7 separate regions of the Homo sapiens genome follow, and all the other regions are linked to region 6. The links are contacts of gene promoters, found by promoter capture Hi-C in human tissues and cell types (Jung and others, 2019). All regions are on one chromosome and are shown on one strand. The core of a region is centred on a gene start or on the middle of the fragment in contact, and the rest is flanking DNA. Distances in the headings are between cores, read along the strand shown.

Region 1 (3,167 bases), core at 298-2,797, 650 kb after region 6:
AAATGAAAATGTGAGCACAGAACCTTACTGAGTATGCTGTGCTGAAACATGTTCCTTAAGCATATTTGTCAGCTGGGAGCACCTGACAAGTTCTAATAAGAAATGTTTTACTCCATTAAAAAATAACAGTGCACCTGTCACTAATACAGAAAAATATGTATTTGCATACATTAAAAATTCATCTGTAATTATTTCTGACATTTCTGAGTTTTCTTTTTCCATAATGGGATTTTATTTAAAACTTTTTGAACTTTATATTTATGTAATATTCTAAAACTAGCACATTGTTAATGAAAGACTTTCATTTTAACTTATTTGATTTGTTATTTATTCTAATTTTATCCTTTCTATGACTAGCATCAAGAATTGTTACAACCCACTTGGAATATGTTTGCACACCATATAGTTCACTGCATTCATTTGTACAAGTGCCAGCTGGCCAGCAACATTTTAATTCCCTTATTTTTCTTTTCTCTCTTCTTTTTTAGCTTTATTGAGCCCTCTGCTTCATTTTCTCATCATTTCTCCATTAACCTACATTTAACTCCAGTAACAGATCATATCCATCATTTTGTATGTGGTACCAATTTTCCGCATGTGAATAAGCCAAAATACATTCTTCAAAGCTAAAGCAAGTATTTGCTGCAATCATCACCAAATCACATACAAATTTATGGATAGAAACAAATATTTTTGCAAAGTAATGAATATGGAAACATCAAATATAATTTTATGTCATACATTGTATAGATTTGGAATTACTGTAATTATATCATCATTTCTGTTTACATTTAAGTCACCATTCATTTATGAGAATAAAGTAAATCTGGCTGTGACAGAAAGGTAGATCTTAAATTAGAAATTAAGATTTTCAGCACAATATTTTATTTAACACTGTTAAAAATAGACAGACATTTTGCTTTTGCTGTCAGTCGTGGGAAATTTAAATGAAAAAAAAATTATCCTCATTTAGATATGCCCTTTTCCCCCTTGTAATCATAAAACACATGCCCACACTTAGAAACAACTACACAATCTTTGTAATTCATAGTACTCATAATCCCTACTCATGATGCTAGCTCAGGTCTTCATGAAGTTTAGTCTATTTCAAGCTTTATTTCTTAGGATGTTTTGGGAATGGCTTGGATATGTTATCATTGGAGTAAAGGCCTTTTTAGTGTTCTATTTCCTGCAGGAGCAATTAAATCAGGTGAGAGATTGTGGATCCACTTTATATGAGGTTTCTGTATGGTATTCTTATTTGGCTTTATTATTCTTTTTTCTTCCTTGCTTATAGAATCTCCATTTCATTCAGATAAAAACTGCCTTGATGAAGGGGATGAATGACAATCAGGTTTAACTGGTGGATGTCAAACTGAGGTGCACATTACAGTCACCTGAGGAAGTTTTGTGACATCCTGATACCCTGGAGATTTTGAAGTAACTGGTTTGGAAAGGCAGCCTGTATTAGTGTTTTTAAAGAGTTACAATTATTTTAATTGTTTAATGCTTAAGCCAATATAACTTCTTTTAGGATAGAGGTTGCATAGCCAATACCCCAACTTAAAGGGAAACTATTTCTTTTCTGATGAAATGCAAAGTTGAGGCCAGGAGAAAGCCTTTTTTTTCTCTAGCTCCCTTCCCCGTTCTTCCCTTCAACCTTTGTTTCTTTGTTTTGAGAATGCTGAAGAATGATAATGTAATGTTTGAAACTGTAGCAGCCATTTCATAACCTTGAAAGGTGATATTGCCACCAGGCTGAAGTTGAAAGATTAGAAGTGAAGGAACTGAAATCTTGAAGATACTAAATTGCTAAATCAATCCTGAGAATTCCTTAATATATAAAGCATAAGTGTCCTCTGAAGGTAAGTTCTCTAATATTTGCTACTAAACATATTTTAACTGATTCCATTATTGATATGATAACTCAATATTTAGTACTTAATTCAGATAAATTAGAACAAATTAAGTTTTTTAAGTGCTGTATTTAAACTATAACAATCTTTTATTCCTTCCATTGATTCATTCCTCAATACACAAGTCTTTTGGTCTGGTACAGACTTACTGCTGTGCATTTTGACCAAGATCATTAGTTAGAATATGTGTATTGTGTGCTAATAATATAGTTGCAGTTATATTTGGCCCACTCTGTCTCATATATTTTAAAACTAATGCCTAGTTTTATACTTTGGACAAATGGGTTTCTAACCACATTCCAGAATTATGCTATGTATTCTTAATTTAGTTATTAAAATATATTCATTGAGAACCATCAATATAATAAGTCTGTTTAACAAAGTGTATAAATGAATGAGATTTGGAATACATCTTGTTTTCAAATCCAATCCATTACTCTTATTGATTATTTAAAGCACTCTGATAAAGAGATCTACATATCAACTTTCTAAGGATAGTAAAAAAAGTTAAGAGAGGTTGAATAATAGATACAAATGTAGGAAGGGTATAGAATGAGGCAGTACGGAATATTGTATTACTTAGAACTCTTTCTCCCAAGTCTCACACAAAGGGGAAGTGATTCAAAATACTGACAAATGTATGTGTACCTTTTCCTCAACGAATAATTTTTTTATTTCATAAATAATGTTCATTATATGCTAAATACTGTTTAAAACACTGAGCACAAAAATGAAGAACAAAGTTAACATGATTCAATCTCTCATGAAGCTTCAGTCAAATGAGAAAGACTAATGTTAGCCGTATAGATTAATCATAGATCAATCAATAATTGAAATCATATTGTTTCATATGAAGAAATGAAATTCTTCCAAATATATTTGATATTAAGTCATGTAACTAAGATTAGAATTCTCCTCTACTTTTAGCTAAGTATCTTTTCCAAAGCAAAATAAATGGGACCAGGATATAAACCCAACTTAGTAAATTTGCAGAATTGTATTCTTTTATATCCTAACCTTTTTTCTAAAGGTAAATAAAGCCAGGAGATATGGACAGTAAAATATAACATTACCATAGATTTACAAATGTGAATAGATTTTATATATTTTACCTTTACAATACTTTTCAGTCTAATAGATGGTACCACCTCCATAAAATGCTAGCATCAACAGAGAAATTAATGTGCTTAATTAACATTAATTTATCTGGCATGAAAAAACGGGGTATTTTTATACCAGGGTTATTTAAAT
Region 2 (3,324 bases), core at 244-2,743, 980 kb after region 6:
AAAATTGGACATGAACTACAAAACGACACCCCCAAACCATTCAAATACATGGAAATAAAATAACTTGCTTCTGAATGATCATTGGGTCAACAATGAAATCGAGATGGAAATTTAAAAATTTAAATTTAAATTTAAGTTTAATTAAATTTAAATTTTTAAATTTAAACTGAATGATAATTATAATTAAACTGAATGATAATAGTGACAAAACCTATCAAAACCTCTGGGATACAGCAAAAGTGGTGCTAAGAGGAAAGTTCATAGGATTAAATGCCTACATCAAAAACTTTGAGGCTGGATGCAGTGGCTCACACCTGTAATCTCAGCACTTTGGGAGGCCAAGGCGGGGGAAATCACGAGGTCAGGAGTTTGAGACCAGCCTGACCAACATGGTGAAACTTCGTCTCTACTAAAAATACAATTAGCCAGGCGTGGTGGTGTGCACCTGTAATCCTAGCTAGTCAGGAGGCTGAGGCAGGAGAATCGCTTGAACCCAGAAGGTGGAGGTTGCAGTGAGGCAAGATCACACCATTGCACTCCAGCCTGGGTGACAGAGCGAGACTCTGTTTAAAAAAAAAAAAAAAAAACAACTTTGAAAGAGGACAAATAGTTAATCTAAGGTCACACATCAAGAAACTAGAGAAACAAAAACAAACAAAACCAAAACCTAGCAGAAGAAAAGAAATAACCAGGATCAGAGCAGAACTAAATGAAATTAAAACAAATAAAAGATAAATGAAACAAAAACCTGATTCTTTGAAAAATTAATTAAAATTGATAGATCATTCATGAGATTAACCAAAAAAAGAAGAATGAAGATCCAAATAAGCTCAATTAAAATAAAATGGGAGACACTACAACTGATTCCACAGAAATACAAAAGATCATTCAAGGCTATTATGAATGCCTTTATGCAGATAAACTAGCAAACATACAGAAGAGGGACAAATTCCTGGAAATATATCACCCTCCTAGTTTAAACCAGGAAGAAATAGAAACTCTGAGCAGACAAATAACAAGTGCAAGATTGAAATGGTAATTAAAAATTTGCCAAGTAAAAAAAAAGGCCAGGCCCAGAGAGATTCATAGCTGAATTCTATCAGATATTCAAATAATTGGTACCAATCCTATTGACACTATTACAAAACATAGAGAAATAAAGAATCCTTCCTAAATCATTCTATGAAGTATCACCCTAATACCAAAACCAGAAAAGGACATAAAAAAAACTATAGGCCAATATCCCTTATGAACATAGATGCAAAAATTCTCAACCAAATACTAGCTAACTGAATCCAACAGCATATCAAAAAGAATATCCAACAGCATATCAAAAAGATAATCCACCATGATCCAGTGGGTTTCATACCAGAAATGCAGGGACGGTTTAACATACAAAAGTAAATAAATGTGACACACCACATAAATAGAATTAAAAACAAAAATCACACGAGCATCTCAATAGATACAGAAAAAGAATTTCACAAAATACATCATCCCTTTATGATTAAAACTCACAGCAAAATCAACATAGAAGGGACATACCTTAAGGTAATAAAAGCTATCTATGACAAACCCACAGCCAACATTATGTAGAATAGGGAAAAGTTGAAAGCATCCCCCCTGAGAACTGGCACAAGACAAGGATGCAAACTTCCACCACTTGCATTCAGAACAGTACTGGAAGTCTTAACCAGGGCAATCAGACAGGAAAAATAAAAGTAAAGGGCATCCAAATCAATGAAGAGGAAGTCAACCTGTTGCTGTTTGCTGATGACATGATCATATACCTAGGAAATCCTGAAGACTCATCCAAAAATCTCCTAGATATAGTAAGTGAGTTCAGCAGAGCTTCAGGAAACAAAATTAATGTACCCAAATTAGTAGCCCTACTATAAAGCAACAGCAACCAAGCTGAGAATCAAATGAAGAACTCGATCCCTTTTACAATACCTGCAAAAAAATTAAAATAAAATACTTAGGAATATACTTAACCAAGGAGGTGAAAGACCTCTACAGGGACAACTACAAAACACTGCTGAGAGAAATAACAGCACAAACAAATGAAACACATTCCATGCTCATGGATGGGTAGAATCAATATTGTGAAAATGACAATATTGCCAAAAGCAATCTATAAATTTGATGCAATTTGCATCAAAATACCACCATCATTCTTCACAGCGCTAGAAAAAACTATCCTAAAATTCCTGTGAAACCAAAAAAAAAAAAAAAAAAAAAAAAAAAAAGCCTCCATAGCCAAAGCAAGACTAAGAAAAAAGAACAATTCTGGAGGCATTATATTACTCAACTTCACACTTTACTGTAAGGTTATAGTCACCAAAACAGCATAATACTGTTGTACAAATAGGCACATATAACAATGGAACAGATTAAGGAAACCAGAAATAAACTCAAATACCTACAGCTAACTCATCTTCAACAAAGCAAACAAAAACAAATTGGGGAATGGACATTCTGTTCATCAAATGGTGCTGGGATAATTGGCAAGCCACATGTAGAAGAAAGAAATTGTGTCCTAATCTCTCACCTTGTACAAAAATAAGCTCAAGATAAATTAAGGACTTAAACATAAGATCTGAACCCATAAAAATTCTAGAAGATAATATCAGAAAAAACCCTTCTAGACATTGGCATAGGCAATGACTTTATGACCAAGAACCCAAAAGCAAATTAAACAGAAACAAAAATAAATAGATGGAATAAATTAACCTCAAAAGATTCTACACAACAAAAGAAACAATCAACAGAGTAAACAGACAACCCACAGTGGGAGAAAATCTTTGCGGTCTGGATATCCAACAAAAGATTAATATCCAGAATCTACAAGGAACTCAAACAAATGAGCAAGAACAAAACAAACAATCTCATCAAAAAGTGAGCTAAAGGCATGAATAGAAAATTTTCAAAAGAAGATGAACAAATGGCAAATAAACATATGAAAAAATGCTCAACATCACCAATGAGCAGAGAAATGCACCCAAAACCATAATGCAATACCACCTCACACTGGCAAGAATGGCAATAATAAGAGAATAAAAAAAAATCGATGTTGGACTAGATGTGGTAAAAAGAGAACAGTTTAACCCTACTGGTGGGAATGTAAACTAGTACAACCACTATGGAAAAGTGCGTAAATTCTTTAAAGAATTAAAAGTAGATCTACCAGTTGATCCAGCAATCCCACTACTGGTTATTTACCCAGAGGAACATAAGTCATTATACCAAAAAGATATGTGCACACACATATTTATAGCAGCACTATTTGCAATTGCAAAAGTATAGAACCAGCCCAAATGCCCA
Region 3 (3,415 bases), core at 346-2,845, 700 kb after region 6:
TCTTTTTCTTTCTTTTTTTATTTTTATTTTTTCTTTGAGGCAGGGTCTCACTCTGTTACCCAGGTTGAAGTGCAGTGACACAATCATGGCTCACTCTCACTGCAGCCTCAACCTCCCTGGGCTCAGGTGATCCTCCCATCTCAGCCTGCCGAGTACCTGGAACTACAGGTGTTCACCACCATGCCCGGCTAATTTTTTGTATTTTTTGTAGAGACAGGGTTTCACCATGTTGCACAGGCTGGTCTCAATCTCCCTAGCTCAAGCGATCTGCCTGTCTTGGCCTCCCAAAGTGCTGGGATTAATGGCATGAGCCGCTGAGCCTGGACTTAGTTTTTTTTATGCATGTATATTCTGCAGAACATCATGCTAGTCTGCTATGGTGGCACTATTAGGCTAATTGACTTGGTAGTCAGAAATCTCAAAGCTACTCTAGCTATTTTGGAAGAAGGGCAAGACATAAACTTTGAGCATTCAGAAATCTGTTACCTCGGCAAAACCTTAGGAATTTCATAATCTGACCCATGCTGGGACATCCTGTGTATGATTTAAAAAAATAAGTTGCTGAAACTTGCACCTTTAATAAAATGAGAGGTCTAGTGCTTGCTGAGTTATTTTGACTTGAAGTATTCATATACAGCTTTGAGTAATACTAATTCATGCCATTATTCATGAGGCTACTAATTTCTATTTAGACCCAGAGAGAGAAAGGCCTCCAGCAAATTAAGGCTGTAAAGTGTGTTGTAACCTACCATGAAGCTTTGGCTATATGATTCAGCAGATGGATTGGTAACAGACTATTCACGGTTGGTAAGAGATGCTGTGTGGGTCTCTGGGACCACCAGTTGGAGAGTTGTAGATTACTGGAATTCCAGAGCAAGGAGGGAACTCCTTGCTTTTGGAGAAAAAGTTCTTGATCAGCTACTTGGCCATAATAGAGGTTGAGCCCCAGGCCATGGGATTCTGAACAAATAGAAGAGCTGTGTATTGTTAAAACATTAGCCAGGCAAAGTAGAAATTCATCTTATAATATGCATGTGCAGGGGGTCAAAATATGCCACCTCAAAATACGCCACCTTGGCATAAAAATAATTTTGAACTAAAGATAAATCAGAAATAACAGATGCAGAAGGAAGCCTTGTTGGAGCTTCTTCTATTTGAATGAAAGCAGAAACCTCTGAAAAATTAGAACTATCAAAATTTCTACTCCAAAGAAAGCTTTATGGCAATGAAGGAAATAGAAAGTGAGCACGAAAGCAACCTGAATAAACAACACTTATCTTCCATTACTTTCCCCACATATGTAACATTTGCCTTCCTACCATTTGCCATCTTTGAAAGCATAAAACACTTTTCCTTTGTCTTGTAGCTTCTTTAAAAATGTATTGTTCTTTTGTTAAGATACTGTATAAACACAAGTTCTAATCAACCCTTTGAGTAACTCAGCATGGAGGTTCCTCCGGTGTAATGTGTACTGCACACATTAATAAACTGTTTTTCTCTTCTTAATTTGCCTTTTGTTAATCTGATTTACAAAGTACCAGCTGAAGAATCTAAGATGGGTAAGGTAAAAATATTTTTTCTCCATGACACCATTATATGCTTATGATCAGGCCAAAGCGTGTCCAGTAGGAACAAGTAAGCTACATAATTAAACAAGTAGTCTAACTCACGTGCTTACCTCTGTTGTATTGATGCTTCATTTGCACACATTTTCTCATGTGTGATTTCCCATGAAGGAAAAAAAAAAAAACAAAAGGAAAGGAAAAAAAAAATAAACAATGAGATTTACTTCTTGGTTTGTTTAATTATGATAGCCCCAAATCAAAAGCCACTGCAGTATAGCTCTAATCAGGGATAGTCTGATAGATGTCAGTTAGAGAAAATTTTCTTTCTGGACAGAGACTTGCAGTCAACTTGGTTCTATACTTTAACGCTCTGTCCTCAATGGCTAGAATACAAGGGTTTAGGAAATAGTGGGCGGTTGATATGGTTTGATTGTGTCCCCACAAAAATCAAAATCTCATCTTGAATTATAATTCCCCATATACCCATAATCCCCACATGTCAAGGCAGAGACTAGGTGGAGGTAATTGAATCATGAGGTGGTTCCCTTATCATACTGTTCTCATGGTAGTGAGTGAATTCTCACAAGATCTGATGGTTTTATAAGTGTGTGGTAGTTCCTTCTGCATTCATTCTCCTTCCTGCCGCCCTGTGAAGAAGTTACCTTGCTTCCCCTTCACCTTCTGCTATGATTGTAAGTTTCCTGAGGCCTCCGGAGCCATGCTTATCTGTGAGTTAATTAAACCTCTTTCCTTTATAAACTACCCAGTCTCAGGTAGTATCTTTATAGCCGTGTGAGAATGGACTGATACGGTGGTGATAGGAGTGACCCCCTCTCACCATCATTTCTTAACCCAGTTTCAAAAGGTCGGCTTCCTGTCGCCACAAGTTCAAATTCTGCTGGATTAGGGATCTTGATTTTCAGGAGTAATGACACTTCTTCTAGTGAGCTCAGAATTGTGTCTGCTAAACCTGAAACTATGATGATTATCTGATCACTTTGAGCTTCTTGTGCTGTTAATGAATAGGTAAAGAAAGGAATTACTATACTAGTCAGGATAACTAACCTTTATTTTCATAAGATGTCTTAGTATATATGCATGCAATACTAAGCAACAGATACCTCATCATAGTCTCTCCAATTATTTTTTGGTTATACAAGGTTTATACTTTAATAGGTTCCTCAAAAAGCATTCAAGAATTGTACTCCAGGGTTTTGTTTTTCTGCTTGTTTGCTCTAATATTCATTATTATTTGTGTGCTTTACACTTGAAGGTAAACTGAGCTGGGTATGATATGATTTGATATAATACCTTGGTTCTCTATTTTTCTTTCCTTGCATTACTTAAACATGTCCCTATCTTGTCTTCTGTTATGAAGTATTGCCTTTAATAATTTTAATACCAAACCTGATTTTCTCCTAATTAATGATTAATTCTGTTCTATTTTGGATGTCCGAGTAGATTTACATTTTTCAAATTTGTTATTCAATATTATTTTTCTTATTTATTAGAAAATGCCCCATTATTATTTTTGTGACTGTTTAAATTTTTCATTATTTTTTAAAATTTATTACTCAATATGATTTTTGTTGCTTATTAGAAAATGCCCCTGTTTTAATTTTGTGAATAATTCTTTATTCTCCAGTATGATTCTAGTTAAATAGTTCATATTACGTGTAGTCTTTTTTATTTCAAAAAAATTCCTTTACATTTATTTGTTTTTCTGTTTATCTGTTCATTTATCAATCTATCATCAATTTATCTTTTTTCATTGCTTTGGTTTACTTTTTTGGCATCTCCAATAATAGGTATGTTGAATCTCCTGTATCTGTTTTCTATATTTCCTTTTT
Region 4 (3,241 bases), core at 629-3,128, 780 kb after region 6:
ACATGGTTTGGCTTAATAAATTAGAGGTAATAACGTGTATTCAATTTCAATTGATATAACAATCATGTAGTACAATATATAGAATCTCTGCATATATTACAATATGATGTACAAAGTAAAGTGAATGTAATATTGGTAGTTTGCAGAATCCAACTCACAGTTGTTGAGTTATTGAGTGCACACTATGTCCCAGGTACAGAATTTTGGATAACAAATAAAAGCCAAAGAAAATAAACAACAGCAAAAATTTATAAAAGAGGATAACAAACTTTTCGACTTAAGAGACTTACATTCTAAACATTCTCAATGATTTAGCTAAGTGTCCCACTAAGCATTTATTTCTATTCATGACTTCTAGGGCTTTCACCTTACAATCCTTCCCACAGTTGATCAATGATTTTGTGAGTCTGCTGCCATGTAAAAGTTCTTTAAAAAGTGAGGAGAAACAAAATACCAGATTTAGATAGGGGTATTTTAAGATAAGGTCACACAATAGAAATAAAATGTTAACTTAGTCATCAACTATGTTATCTAAAGGTGGACCAAATCTAAAATATTTCAGTAGTTATTTAACTCATAACCTCCTATATCTTTCTTTCTTTTCTCTCTCCTTGATTAAATGTCGTTTCACTACATGAGATGTCTCTATAACAGACATTATATGCTCTATCTTTACATAGTCTCTAAATTTAGTTTTATAATAATTACATAGTCTCTAAATTTAGCTTTATAATCACTAAAGCTTTCCATAAGTTATAGTTCTGAATCTTCAGTTTTCTTTGACAAGGTCTTTCCTGTTTTTACATAGCAATAACTTCAGTATCTCTACATGATAGCCAAATCTCTTCCTCAAATTTCAGAAATTACTCACGGAATACCTGACACAACCACAAACGTCCCATAACAATTTCAATATTAATGTGTCCAAAGTCTAAACTCATTTTAATTCCTTTAAAAGTATTTCATATTCAGTGTTTCTTACTATCATCCATCATCCTTTAGGCACTCAAGTCAGGACCTTGATAGTCTAAGCGTACCTTTCTGTCTCTTGATTCCAAAATGTAGCTTATTGCAATCGTGTGGGTATTAAATTCTAAATACCTTCTTCACACATTTCTATCTATCTCATCCCCTTACCAGAGACTTATTGACAACCCCCTTCAAATGTTGTTTGATGTTAGTGTTGTTTACAGTAACACTAATACCCTATGGTTTCTCTGACACCTTCCTGCACTACATCATTTGACCTTTACCACTGCTATTAAGAGTTTGATGTGCACTTTTCACCTTTGTCTTACCTTATTTTGATTTTTCAGACTTTCCAGGAGACTTAAAACTCTTTATGATTGAGTCCAGCAAACCTGTCCAGAATCACCTTACTATTCTTACCTAAGCAAACTCTATCATTGCCAGAATAAACTACTTGATGCCCTGCACATCTAGTGATCCATTCCATATACTATTTCCTCTACATGGATTGCACTTGCCTCTTCTCTCCTAACAAATTCTACAAAGTGTTTTGCCATTTATTAAGTCAGAGTTCCTCCTACCTGTCTCCATAATGTTTTCCTTACACCTCAAGAAGAGCACTAAGATTTCATTTTATTACTTCTGTTTGGACTCCTAGATAATGTGCATCATTGCAGGGTTTTATATTCTTCTTTAGCCTTTTGCATACTGCTTTGAATATAAAGATATTTCTCTAACTTTACTATATCAACATGTATTTATTGTATTTTCTATTACATACCATGATTTTTTTAATTGTATATAAAAAATTAGCTCTCTGTCTATCTTGGTCTATAAGTATGAATATGTGTTTACATGAGTAACAAATGGCTTATATGATAATATAGAAATAAACAAGATTACTCTAATGTAAATCTCATTTTGGTCCCATTCTAGGAAAGACTTTACAAAACAAACACAAGACAAAATAGGTATAGAAAAATGAGTTTCTAAATGTCTTAAGATACATTGTAAGCTCTACGTATATGACAGGTAAAAGCGAGCATTCAGAACATCTGGCCTCTCTCATATGGCATTACTTACTGTAATGTGTATAAATAGAAACAGCAAGAAAGAGTGTGGCACATTCATTTTTGCATTCTTTGCTAATGCAAGTCTAGCTGATATTTATACCTCAGCGATTTTTGAAAGAAGATTAATGACATGAATATTTGTAAAGAAAGTGTCTATGTGACCAACATTGAAGCTGCTCTTGGATATCAGTGTCATAGTTTTTTTGCAATGGCTGCCTTTTTGCCACACAACCTTATTTTATTGAGGTGACAGGCTGTCACATGTAAGGTTTATTTCTATTACCTCTTTTGCTGCTTTAATTCACAGTCTATTTTCAGTGTCTTTCTTTCCTTTCATATGTTAATTTTGATTTGAACCAATTAACATATCTAACAAATCCTAGAATTAATTTTTCAATTCAGATTGAGCCACATATTTTTGCTGAAATATATTAGAGAATTTTTTGATAGCTCAGTTTTCAATAATTCCCCACATTTTGGAAGAAGGTTATGCCTATAGTTACTTTGTTGTTTCCTGACTTCCAGAGTTACTTCTATGTCTTCCTTCAGTGTCCAATGTTAGGAATTTGATTTTAATGACAACAATTGGAATACATTCTTGTTAAACTCTGTATCTTAAGGCAATCTCTGATATTTGCTGAACAATCAGATTTTTTCCAGAATATGGCTGTGAGCTCAAATGAGACAGTCTCCCTTTAAGTCATATGAGTGGAAGTATGAAGGAAAGTGAGAAATAAATTGGGGCTGGAAAATATGGTTACATTTTTAAAATGAGAGTATCTGAGATGTCAAGGTTGGGAGGAATAAATAACTGTACTTTGCTTCACATAATACAAATACTATTTTATAAAATTTTGATAAACAACTACACAAGGCAGAAATCATTGAGTTGCATAGAAAACCTTTTGGGACCATTTGGAATTAGCAGGGATTTTACATTTACCTTTTAGAGTTTTTTTTTTCTTGCAAAATTGCAAAGAGTTTAACGACATACTAAGTCAAAATCTGCAGGTTATAGAATTGCATTTCCCTTACATCAGCTTTTAGCTTAGTTATTAAGCATCCTGCATCATTGTGGTTTTGTTCAGATGTGAATAAAAGCTAATGTTTATTGAAAATTCTATTATTCCCTGAACAATTTAAAGATTCACAAATCTACAATGTAAAACATAACAAAGCATAACAGACAATGCTCTGTT
Region 5 (3,147 bases), core at 29-2,528, 630 kb after region 6:
GACAGACACTGTTGCATATGTAATCTCGATTAGTGAATAGGATTCTAACTACTTTTAATGAACTTCAAAGCACATATTTGACACATACATTAACAGAGGATCTAGAAGTGAGAAGTGAAATATTCTTTGGTATAGGTAGATACTATAAAGTTAATAATACTGGATAAGTAATGATGTATAAGCACAGATAACATCATCTTGTGACATCTATTTTGTTAGGTGTACTGTGGATATGATTTCAGATGATATTTGAAGTGGTTCTACACAAAATAGAACATCTCAATCTTAGTGATTTTATTAACACTATTGTCATTAAAATGTAAAAAGTTGAATGTTTGAAAATTATATATGTAATATAGACATATGTATATATGCATACATAAATACATGTATAAAGATGTGCATAAATACATACAGAACACATACAGTTGCATTTATATTTTTTCAAAAATATATTGAAGAGATTGCTAATTAACTAGTATGTATTACACTGAGCATAAGGTAGTCATCCATTCTCTGTGGCCAAGGCCCCTACTGGACAGCTGAAACCATGGATAGTACAAAATTATATGTATACTATACCCAAATTTCTTCTTCCTTTTCCACGATTTCCTGTATAGAAGATTCGTTCTTACTGTAGATCTTAACAACCTCAGCATAAGATTTTTTTCTTTCCTTATTAATCAAAGAACTTTCAATTTTTCACTTAAAGGAAGCACTTTATGGCTTCTCTTTGGAATATCTGAATTGCCAGCATGATTACCCTTTCACTTTCGGGCCATTATTAAGTAAACTAAAGCTTCCTTGAAGACAGGCACTGCCATACTGTGACAATCAATCTGGTAACCAAGAAAGCTAAGAGATTAATGAGCAGGTAGTGTAGACAGTGTGGATGTGCTGGACAAAAGGATGATTCAGATCCGGGATGGGACAAACAGAGATGGCATGAGTTTCATTACGCTACTCAGAAGATAATGCGATTTGAAACTTATACATTGTTTATTTTTGGAATTTTTTATTTAATACTTTCAGGCTGCAGTTGACTGAGTAACTTATCATTTACTTCTGAGCTATAAAAAAGGTTTTAGTTACTAAAAAGGTCGCAGTGCTCAAAAAACAGTATGTATCAAAACAGACTTTGTATATCAAATCTATTTTTGTAGTTCAATCGATGGATTCTACATTTAAATTGTAGTGAACACAGTATTTTCATATGGAAGCATGAGTGGATTGTGGGCAGGAAGCTTTAAGCATTAACTCATTGTTTTAATTGCATTTTTCCACTTGAATTCTCACAGCTCTATTCTTCACCCAAATTCAGGTAGCTAGGCCAAATTACCATTTCCTCAAGGGGACTATTGTCACTCTGGAAGCAAATACAATATAGATATAAGATGAAAATCTTTATATTGCATGCAGACAGAAAAAAATTCCATGAGCTAGATAATGAATATCAACTGCAGAAACCGCCCCCCACCCCCTGCTAGGGAACATCTGGCAATGTCTGGAGTCATTTTTGGTTGTCACAACTGAGAGTGGGGGGTTATGTTGGCATCTGGCTAGTGGAGGTCAGAGCTGCTGTTAAACATCTACAATGCAAAGGACAGTTCCACAACATAGAATGATCTGATCCAAAATAACAATAGTGTTGAGATTGGCAAATGCTAGACTAGAGAAAGGGGAGAGAGAGGAACATCACTAATATGACAGAAGAGACAATAGCATGAGATCAACAAGTTTTATCTAAGAATGCACTCCCAGGATCAGGGATGCCTTCAGGAACTGAGTCTGTTTGCCATTCTTGTGAGTACCAAACATAACCTATGCTAACAATATACATTAGTTGCCTGCTTTTTGCAAACTAATAAGGATTTCTCTTTGATGGCAACAAGCATGTTGACCACTAATTGTCCAAGGAGTTCTGATGCCTCCTTTTGATCCATAATTTGTTGTCTTACCAAATGCACCCTATATAGGCTATCCATGTTTCAGTGACCCAGGACACTGAATACATTTCAGGGAAGTGGTAGTGTGGAAGGAAGGATTTTCCATTTGGCCCAAGTGGTAGCTAAGTATCAACTAAAGAGTGACCTTTAGGCAGGGTAGTGGTTACTCTTGCCTTCATACACACATCTTCGTCTTGAAAAAAAATTATATCACATTATCATACAGTAGTAATAAACACATCTCTATTCTAGCAAATAATTAAAAATATTAAAAAATTATATTGAAAGAAAATATTTCTATTGTTTGCCTTATATGCATAATATTTCCCTTGTAAGTCCATGGTAATTTGCAGGAAAATTCATTGTGATGTAATTAGTTTCATAAGATTGACAGCAACGGCCCATCTATTATAGATTTTTATGACATGCTAATTTCCCATCTGTCCAGGGCACTTCTTTTCATGTGCCAACATTTTAGAGAAAAGTTATAAGAATTGAAAGCCTACTCTTCTTCTAATTGCAGGACGACAATTATTAATGCAATATTCTTGCTAAAGGAGAAGGCACGCTTCTTCGTTTTTTATAAAGGTCACTTTTATAAAAAATGATAGTTCATTATAACCTCCAAATTGAAAATTATTTTCTAGTAATATAAGCAGGCCCTGTCCCACTTTCACACTTATCCCTAAACCTAAAATGGCTTCCTTTTTCATATTTATTATCCCCAGTATTCTCTGTGAAATTTCTTTTGCATTAAGAACCTTTCCAAGAAGGTTTCATTGAAACATGTCACATAGGGGATTATAAAATTAATGTGATGTCTTTTACAAATACATTGTAAGTACTATAAATAAATCAACCAATGACAAACTGAAGTATTTCTTTTCCCTCTTATGAAAGAAAGTGAGACAATATGCAGAGAAGGCTTAAGAAGCTCAAGTTGAAGTAAAAATTTAAGCTACCCCAGAAAAGACTATAAATACTTGTTTATTACATTTGATTTCTGGTATGCCTAAAGTGAGTTACATCTGTGCCAACATATGGATAACTTTGTTCTGAGGGCCTGGGTTTATTGGAGGCATGGGCTGGTTGCCTCACATCAGAAGAAATCTCATATTTATACTCAAGTATTATACAGATATTTTGAGTAAAACATTTGAAAAATGTTCAGAGGAATTGTTCCATATTCTAATATTTGGAT
Region 6 (3,337 bases), core at 765-3,264:
AAGAAAAAGAAAGGGGGGAGGGGTGGAAGTACAGATGCAATACCGTATTAATATTCAGATACACTATAATCTCCTTTTCATTGATCCACAGGTCCCTTTATACACTGCCGCTCCATTCTCAGCCGCAGACGTGATGCTAAAATCATTTTAACTGCAGCGGTTTTCGCTTGGCTTTGGCCAGTCTTCAATTTACTGCAGCTGGAAAAGGATTAGCCATTTTTGCTGGAATCCTTTCCTTCTAAGCGCTCAAAGGCAGGACCCATCTTCATGAAAGAGCCAAGTGCGGGGGCCGGGGGGACCCGGCGTTGCGGGGAGTTGGGGCGCGGAAATCAGGGCAGTAGACGTGCATTCGCGGGACTCTCAGAAGCACGTCTCAGGCTACTATCACGCCCATGGACACTAGCCCTCCTTAACTCCTTGCCAGGAGGAAATGGCAACGTATCTCCAGGTCGGAAAACGACTCTACTTTTCCCGCAGGTTGTGGTGGTGTATTCTTGGGTCATTCATTACCAGAAAGCAGCAAAGGACCTTCCTATCTCTTTGCATAAAAAGGAGATTGAATAGGGGCTTCTTTCGTGAATAAACAACCAATTCCTTGCTAGTGGCCCATTAATTAAAAATATATATTTATAGATCTTTCCTTAGAGAACTGGCATTCTATCCACTCTCCAGCATTAAAGAGTTCGCGCTGTGTTTTAACTTCACAAGAACTAGCTATGTGGATGTGCCGCGTTGCCCCTGCGCCTCCGGAAGGGGCACTCACAGCTGGTCAAGCGCGTCCTTCGGAACTCGGGGAGGCTCCGTTGGGGCTTACACAGAGCTAAGCCCTGGGCCAGGGAGGATGGATGCAAGTACCGTGCATGTGCAAACGTGTTCGCAGATACCCGCAGCGGTGCACACTCGGGCCCCTCGTGTGCACGGGCCCTGCCCACCACCCCGCCCGCGTTCGCCGCCGCCCCACTGTCCTCATCCCGCGGGCTGACCCCAGGATTGGCAGAAATCAGTGGTCTAATCTAGCATGGTGGGTAAAGGGATCGATCTCCAATTGCCAAAAAAAAAATAGAAAATAGCCGGTGTTCCCAGCCGCTGCGTGGCACTTGGCCGCACAAGGCGCAGGGATATCAGAGGCGCTTTGCAGCGCTTGGCGGTGCTGTGTGCCGGATGCCCCAGAGCCCGGCGTTAGGATGGCGGGCTTGTAGGAAGCGGCTCAAATCAACTCCTCAGTCACTGATGAACGCGCTCACGGCTCGAAGCTAGGTCCTCGAGTGAGTTAATCTACTTGGTAAGTATTTTGTGAATATGTATTTTGGGAGGAAAGAAGCACGTCGAACGCGTCTGCCCGTCTGTAAGCGCTGTCATCCCCACATCCTTTAGCGTGAATTCCTCCGCTTTTTAGGAGTCACCTCCACCCCCTACTCCGTATGCTTCGCGCCTTTCCTCACGGCCCCGTCAGACCCCCTCACCTTTAGATTGACACATGCCATATAATACTCACTTTTAAAATGCCCTGCCAGTCTCTGCTAGGGTCCCTTAATTAGGTAACCCTTGCCAATTAGTGGGCCCTGCGCTACTTTTTCCCTTCTCGATGATTTATTTCCATGATGCGTATTAGGGAAAATACCTTAAAGGAAAAAGAATGTTAGCATCATTGGAAATCCCGCTCCTAGGAGAGGATATCGCAGCTGTTGCTATTATGTTTTCGCATTTGCTGATGCAAACAGGGGAACCTCTCTATTCCCTCCCCATTACCTGCGGCTGGGGACTGGGAACTTTCCGCGGCATTGTCCCCAGCCAGCGCCTCGGGACCTGCGGGGCTGTTCTCGCTCTCACACTCACACTCACCCCGGCCGCTCGGGCGAGAGTTCTGTCCCGCCCCGCCCGGCTGCCGCGTGACGTGTCTGTTTGGCGGCCAGTTTGGCCAATCATCGGCAGCTCGGTGGGTGGTGCTCCTGGGCGATTGGTTGGCAGAATGAGGGCGCTGCGCAAAAACGGAGAAGCCGAGCGCTCGGAGCTCAGAAACTGCCAGCCCAGACCACAGGCTCAGAGGCTGAAGCAGGAGGAAGGAAGGACTGGAAGGAAAAAGAGACAGGTTAGAGGGAAAGAGGCTTGGGAAGAAAACAGCAGAAAAGAAACTGCTCATTACACTTACAGAGAGGCAAGTAACGGTGGAGATGAGGACAGAGGGAACCAAGACTCTGAAAGACAAAAAATACAAATAGAGCGAAAGAGGAAAAAAATGTCAAGAAGAACATCCATCCGGAGAAATGAAGAGAATGAAAGTTTTAAGCTGCAGAGCCGTTCTGTGCTTTTCCGGCACAAAATTATATCGCTGATTTTAAGCCCTTTTGCATTTGCCAGCCGTTGACATTAAGAGGCATGTTTAACGGTGCCAACAGCATCTCCTTTTCCTTCTCCTCTTCCTCTTCTTCTTCTTCCTCCTCCTCCTCCTCTTTTTCCTCCTCCTCGTTCTCCTCCCATCAGCAAGAAGACAAACCGAGGACAGTCTTGAAATATCGAAATTTCCTCTTTGGGATTTGCCAGCGCCAAGACTGTCGGAATAAAGGACGCTGACTATTGTATTATTGTTATTTTATTAATTAGTCAGTGGAAAGATTACAGATGAGGAAAGGGGACGCCTGTCACCCTTCCTGTGCTAAGATTTAAAAAAAAATGAGGCTGGATTGCGGGAAGCTCTAAAATGAAGCAAAAGGAGTAAGATTTTTAAAGACAGAAAGCCACAGGAGCCCCCACGTAGCGCACTTTTATTTGTATTTTTTCAGATTTTTTTTTGTTTCGTGGTGGTGGGGGAGGTGATTGGGTGGCTGACTGGCTGCGGGAAGCTACTTCCTTTCCTTTTGGAGATGATTGTGCTATTATTGTTTGCCTTGCTCTGGATGGTGGAAGGAGTCTTTTCCCAGCTTCACTACACGGTACAGGAGGAGCAGGAACATGGCACTTTCGTGGGGAATATCGCTGAAGATCTGGGTCTGGACATTACAAAACTTTCGGCTCGCGGGTTTCAGACGGTGCCCAACTCAAGGACCCCTTACTTAGACCTCAACCTGGAGACAGGGGTGCTGTACGTGAACGAGAAAATAGACCGCGAACAAATCTGCAAACAGAGCCCCTCCTGTGTCCTGCACCTGGAGGTCTTTCTGGAGAACCCCCTGGAGCTGTTCCAGGTGGAGATCGAGGTGCTGGACATTAATGACAACCCCCCCTCTTTCCCGGAGCCAGACCTGACGGTGGAAATCTCTGAGAGCGCCACGCCAGGCACTCGCTTCCCCTTGGAGAGCGCATTCGACCCAGACGTGGGCACCAACTCCTTGCGCGACTA
Region 7 (3,056 bases), core at 252-2,751, 920 kb after region 6:
CTGTTTACATTCAAGGTTAATATTGGTATGTATGAAATTGATCATGTCATCATGTTGTTAGCTGGTTATTATGCAGACTGTGAGGTTGCTTTACAGTGTCAGTGATCTATGTACCTCAGTGTGTTTTTGTGGTGGCTATTAGGTGTTTTTCCTTTCCATATTTCTATATTTAGCACTCCCTTCAGTACCTCTTTTAAGATACATCTTTTTTTTTTTTTGACAGGGTCTCGCTCTGTTGCCCAGGCTGGAGTGCAGTGGTGCAGTCTCGTCTCACTGCAACCTCCACCTCCTGGGTTCAAGTGATTCTCCTGCCTCAGCCTCCCAAGTAGCTGGGACTACAGGGATGCACCACCACTCCTGGCTACCTTTTTGTATTTTTAATAGAGACGAGGTTTCACCATTTTGGCCAGGCTGGTCTCGAACTCCTGACCTCAGGTGATCCAACCACCTGGGACTCCCAAAGTGCTGGGATTACAGGTGTGAGCCACTGCACCCAGCCATGATAGGTCTTAGGGTAACAAGTTCCCTTAGCATTTGCTTATCTGGACTAGGATCCTATCTCTCCTTCGCTTATGAAGCTTCATTTGGCTGTATATTAAATTCTTGGTTGGAATTTCTTTTCTTTAGGAATGTATGTCCCCAATCTCTTCTGGCTTGTAGGGTTTCTGCTGAAAGGTCTGCTGTTACCCTGTTAAGTTTCCCTCTATAGGTAACATGCCCCTTCTCTCTAGCTTATTTTAACATTTTTTCTTTCATTTTGGTGTTGGAGAATATGATGACTATGTGCTTTAGGTATGATCATGTTGTATAGTATCTCAGAGGGGTTCTCTGCATTTTTTGAACTTGAATGTTGATCTCTTTAGCAAGGCTGGGGAAATTTTCATGGACAATATCCTGAAATATTTTTTAAGTTGCTTGCTTTGTCTCCCTCTCTTTCAGGGACATCAATGACACACATATTTTGTCTCTTTACATAATCCCATATTTTTGGAGAGTATTTGTTCTTATTTAATCATTTTTCTTTATTTTTTCTGACTGAGTTATTTTGAAGAACTGGTCTTTAAGCTCTGAGATTCTTTCCTCAGCTTGGTCAATTCTGCTGTTAATACTTGTGATAGTATTCTGAAATTTTTGAAGTGAGTTTTTCAACTCTATCAAATCAGTTTGGTTCTTTCTTAAAATGACCATTTCATCTTTCGTATCCTGTATTATTTTATTACATTCCTTAAAATCCTTGCGTTGGGATTTGGCTTTCTCCTGAATATCAATAATCTTTATTTCTGTCCATATTCTGAGTTCTATTTCTGTCATTTCAGCCATTTCAGCCTGGATATGAGCCATTGCTGGGGAAATAGTTCAGTTATATGGAGGGAATAAGACATTCTGGTTTTTGAGTGGCCAGAGTTCTAGCATTAGTTTTTTCTCATCTGTGTGGTCTGATGTTCCTTTGGTCCTTGAAGTTGCTGTCCTTTGGAGGGTTTTTTTTTTTTTTTTTGGCTTTTATTTTCTTTGATGCCCTTGGGGGTTTGATTTTTGCATAAGATGGATTTATGCTACATTTCCAGACATTTTTAGGGGGCCAAGGCTCAGCTCAGCCCTCCAGGAATGTGTGCTGTGTGGTTTCATGTTGGTCCCCAGCTTTGTTTTCTGGACCCTTGTGAGCTTAGGAACGTGCTGCATTGGTGGGGCCTAGGTGCTCCCGTACCACTGACCACAGCACTCTGATGAGTGGTGCCAGCCAGAGTGGTTCTTTAAGACAGTGGCAGCAGGATTCAAGCTTGTTCACAAGTGCCAGCAGCAGCGGCAGTGTGGTGGGGTGCATGTGCATCGGCTGTGGTGAGGTAGCAGTGGGGGCTGGGCTGACACATTTTTGCAGGCCTTCATACCAGCAGCAGGGGTGGTGAACTGGCCTGTGCAAGGCTGTTGGCCTCCTTGTGTCAGATTAAGGCAGTTGTGGTGATGGCACAGCGGGGCATGGGGTTGTCAGTGCAACAGCAATGGTGGCATAGTGGGGTGGAGGGTGAGGTACGCTCATGCCAGCTGCAGTGTCCCAGTGGGTGTGCATGCACTCACATGCCGCTGGAGGAGGGGAGGTGTGGTCTGCCCACCCAGACACTGGCAAAGCAGTGGGGGTGTGGCTGTGGGTCACTGTGGGCCAGCAAAATGTGCAGGTGAACTGGTACATGTTGGTGGAGGTCACTTAGAGCTCTCCCATGGTCAGGTGCAGTCTGCTGGCAAAAGAGCTACCATGAGGGCCCCAGGGTAGCATCCCAGTTGGGCAGCTGCAGCTTCACTGCAACAAGGTGGCCAGACTTGTGCCCCAGGGGAGGCCAGCAGAAAAGAGAGAACACAGATCAGACTGGCCTTGTCTCATGGACAAGACTACTCTGCTCTCTCCAGGTCCGACATTCTCCATATGGCTAAAGTCTCCTAGAGGAGCATGGCGAGCCTTGGGAAATGGGCATTACTGGACATGCTCCACTGCAGATGTTCCCATACCAAACCCTGAGGGCTTCAGACAGGCTGGAGTACTGTTCCTGCCACCTCTCTAAGCAGTTCTCCCTGATAGCTGAAGTGTTTGTGGAGGTCATAAGGTCTCCTGCTGCCAGGATTCTGGAGGTCCATGGCAAGAGCACGTTGCTCAACTCCTGTTCAGCTCATGGCTTCCTGAGGAGTCAGTGGGAGTCAGGAAAGTCCCTGTGTGCAGTAGTGCCATGCAGGGTTCCCAGCTTCCTCCTCATTCTGCCCATCATCTGTGTCCTCCCTCTGTCCACTCTCAGTGCCTTCCTCTGAAGATACACTCTGAGTGTGCCAGTCTTCCTTATGTACCAGTCTCTTGGTGGTAGATGTTCCTTCTAGCTGCATCTTATCAGACATCTTGAATCACTGAAACACTTGTTTTGACAAGTTATGCTAATTGGCCCTAGAACCGATTGAGAACTTTGATCAATATCCAAACACAAGTTATTAAAATTCTTTGGTGTTTTCATTCCTCTACTAATAGATTTCTATGAGTGATCATTGTACCTCTCACACCACCCTATGCCTTTTGAGGC

Evidence for each region. Contacts are between HindIII fragments. The study calls those that stand out against the background at their distance.
Region 1: a contact is called between a fragment that was not itself captured here and the fragment with the promoter of PCDH10 in region 6, in 2 of the 25 tissues and cell types used here (H1 embryonic stem cells and heart left ventricle).
Region 2: a fragment that was not itself captured here is called in contact with the fragment with the promoter of PCDH10 in region 6 in 1 of the 25 tissues and cell types used here (mesendoderm cells).
Region 3: a contact is called between a fragment that was not itself captured here and the fragment with the promoter of PCDH10 in region 6, in 2 of the 25 tissues and cell types used here (heart left ventricle and mesendoderm cells).
Region 4: a contact is called between a fragment that was not itself captured here and the fragment with the promoter of PCDH10 in region 6, in 1 of the 25 tissues and cell types used here (mesendoderm cells).
Region 5: a contact is called between a fragment that was not itself captured here and the fragment with the promoter of PCDH10 in region 6, in 1 of the 25 tissues and cell types used here (H1 embryonic stem cells).
Region 7: a contact is called between a fragment that was not itself captured here and the fragment with the promoter of PCDH10 in region 6, in 1 of the 25 tissues and cell types used here (mesendoderm cells).

The regions. Positions count from the first base shown.
Region 1 is chr4:133,796,389-133,799,555 of GRCh38, forward strand. No RefSeq gene overlaps it. Among named protein-coding and RNA genes, the nearest start is that of PABPC4L, 400 kb to the right of the region's middle. The HindIII fragment of the contact is 3,980 bases long and covers 1-3,167 here.
Region 2 is chr4:134,129,495-134,132,818 of GRCh38, forward strand. It overlaps a transcript of PABPC4L not described here. Among named protein-coding and RNA genes, the nearest start is that of PABPC4L, 71 kb to the right of the region's middle. The HindIII fragment of the contact is 6,623 bases long and covers 1-3,324 here.
Region 3 is chr4:133,849,992-133,853,406 of GRCh38, forward strand. No RefSeq gene overlaps it. Among named protein-coding and RNA genes, the nearest start is that of PABPC4L, 350 kb to the right of the region's middle. The HindIII fragment of the contact is 7,112 bases long and covers 1-3,415 here.
Region 4 is chr4:133,923,217-133,926,457 of GRCh38, forward strand. No RefSeq gene overlaps it. Among named protein-coding and RNA genes, the nearest start is that of PABPC4L, 280 kb to the right of the region's middle. The HindIII fragment of the contact is 7,204 bases long and covers 1-3,241 here.
Region 5 is chr4:133,778,282-133,781,428 of GRCh38, forward strand. No RefSeq gene overlaps it. Among named protein-coding and RNA genes, the nearest start is that of PABPC4L, 420 kb to the right of the region's middle. The HindIII fragment of the contact is 4,201 bases long and covers 1-3,147 here.
Region 6 is chr4:133,147,280-133,150,616 of GRCh38, forward strand. It overlaps PCDH10 (protocadherin 10), which reads left to right and starts at 2,015. Exons shown (of 5, transcript NM_032961.3): 1 at 2,015-3,337. The coding sequence starts at 2,862. PCDH10-DT (PCDH10 divergent transcript) reads right to left here and starts at 1,837. Exons shown (of 9, transcript NR_125885.1): 1 at 1,750-1,837. RefSeq lists an enhancer at 1,759-1,818 and a silencer at 1,929-2,068. The HindIII fragment of the contact is 10,822 bases long and covers 1-3,337 here.
Region 7 is chr4:134,068,511-134,071,566 of GRCh38, forward strand. It overlaps a transcript of PABPC4L not described here. Among named protein-coding and RNA genes, the nearest start is that of PABPC4L, 130 kb to the right of the region's middle. RefSeq lists an enhancer at 2,176-2,864. The HindIII fragment of the contact is 5,712 bases long and covers 1-3,056 here.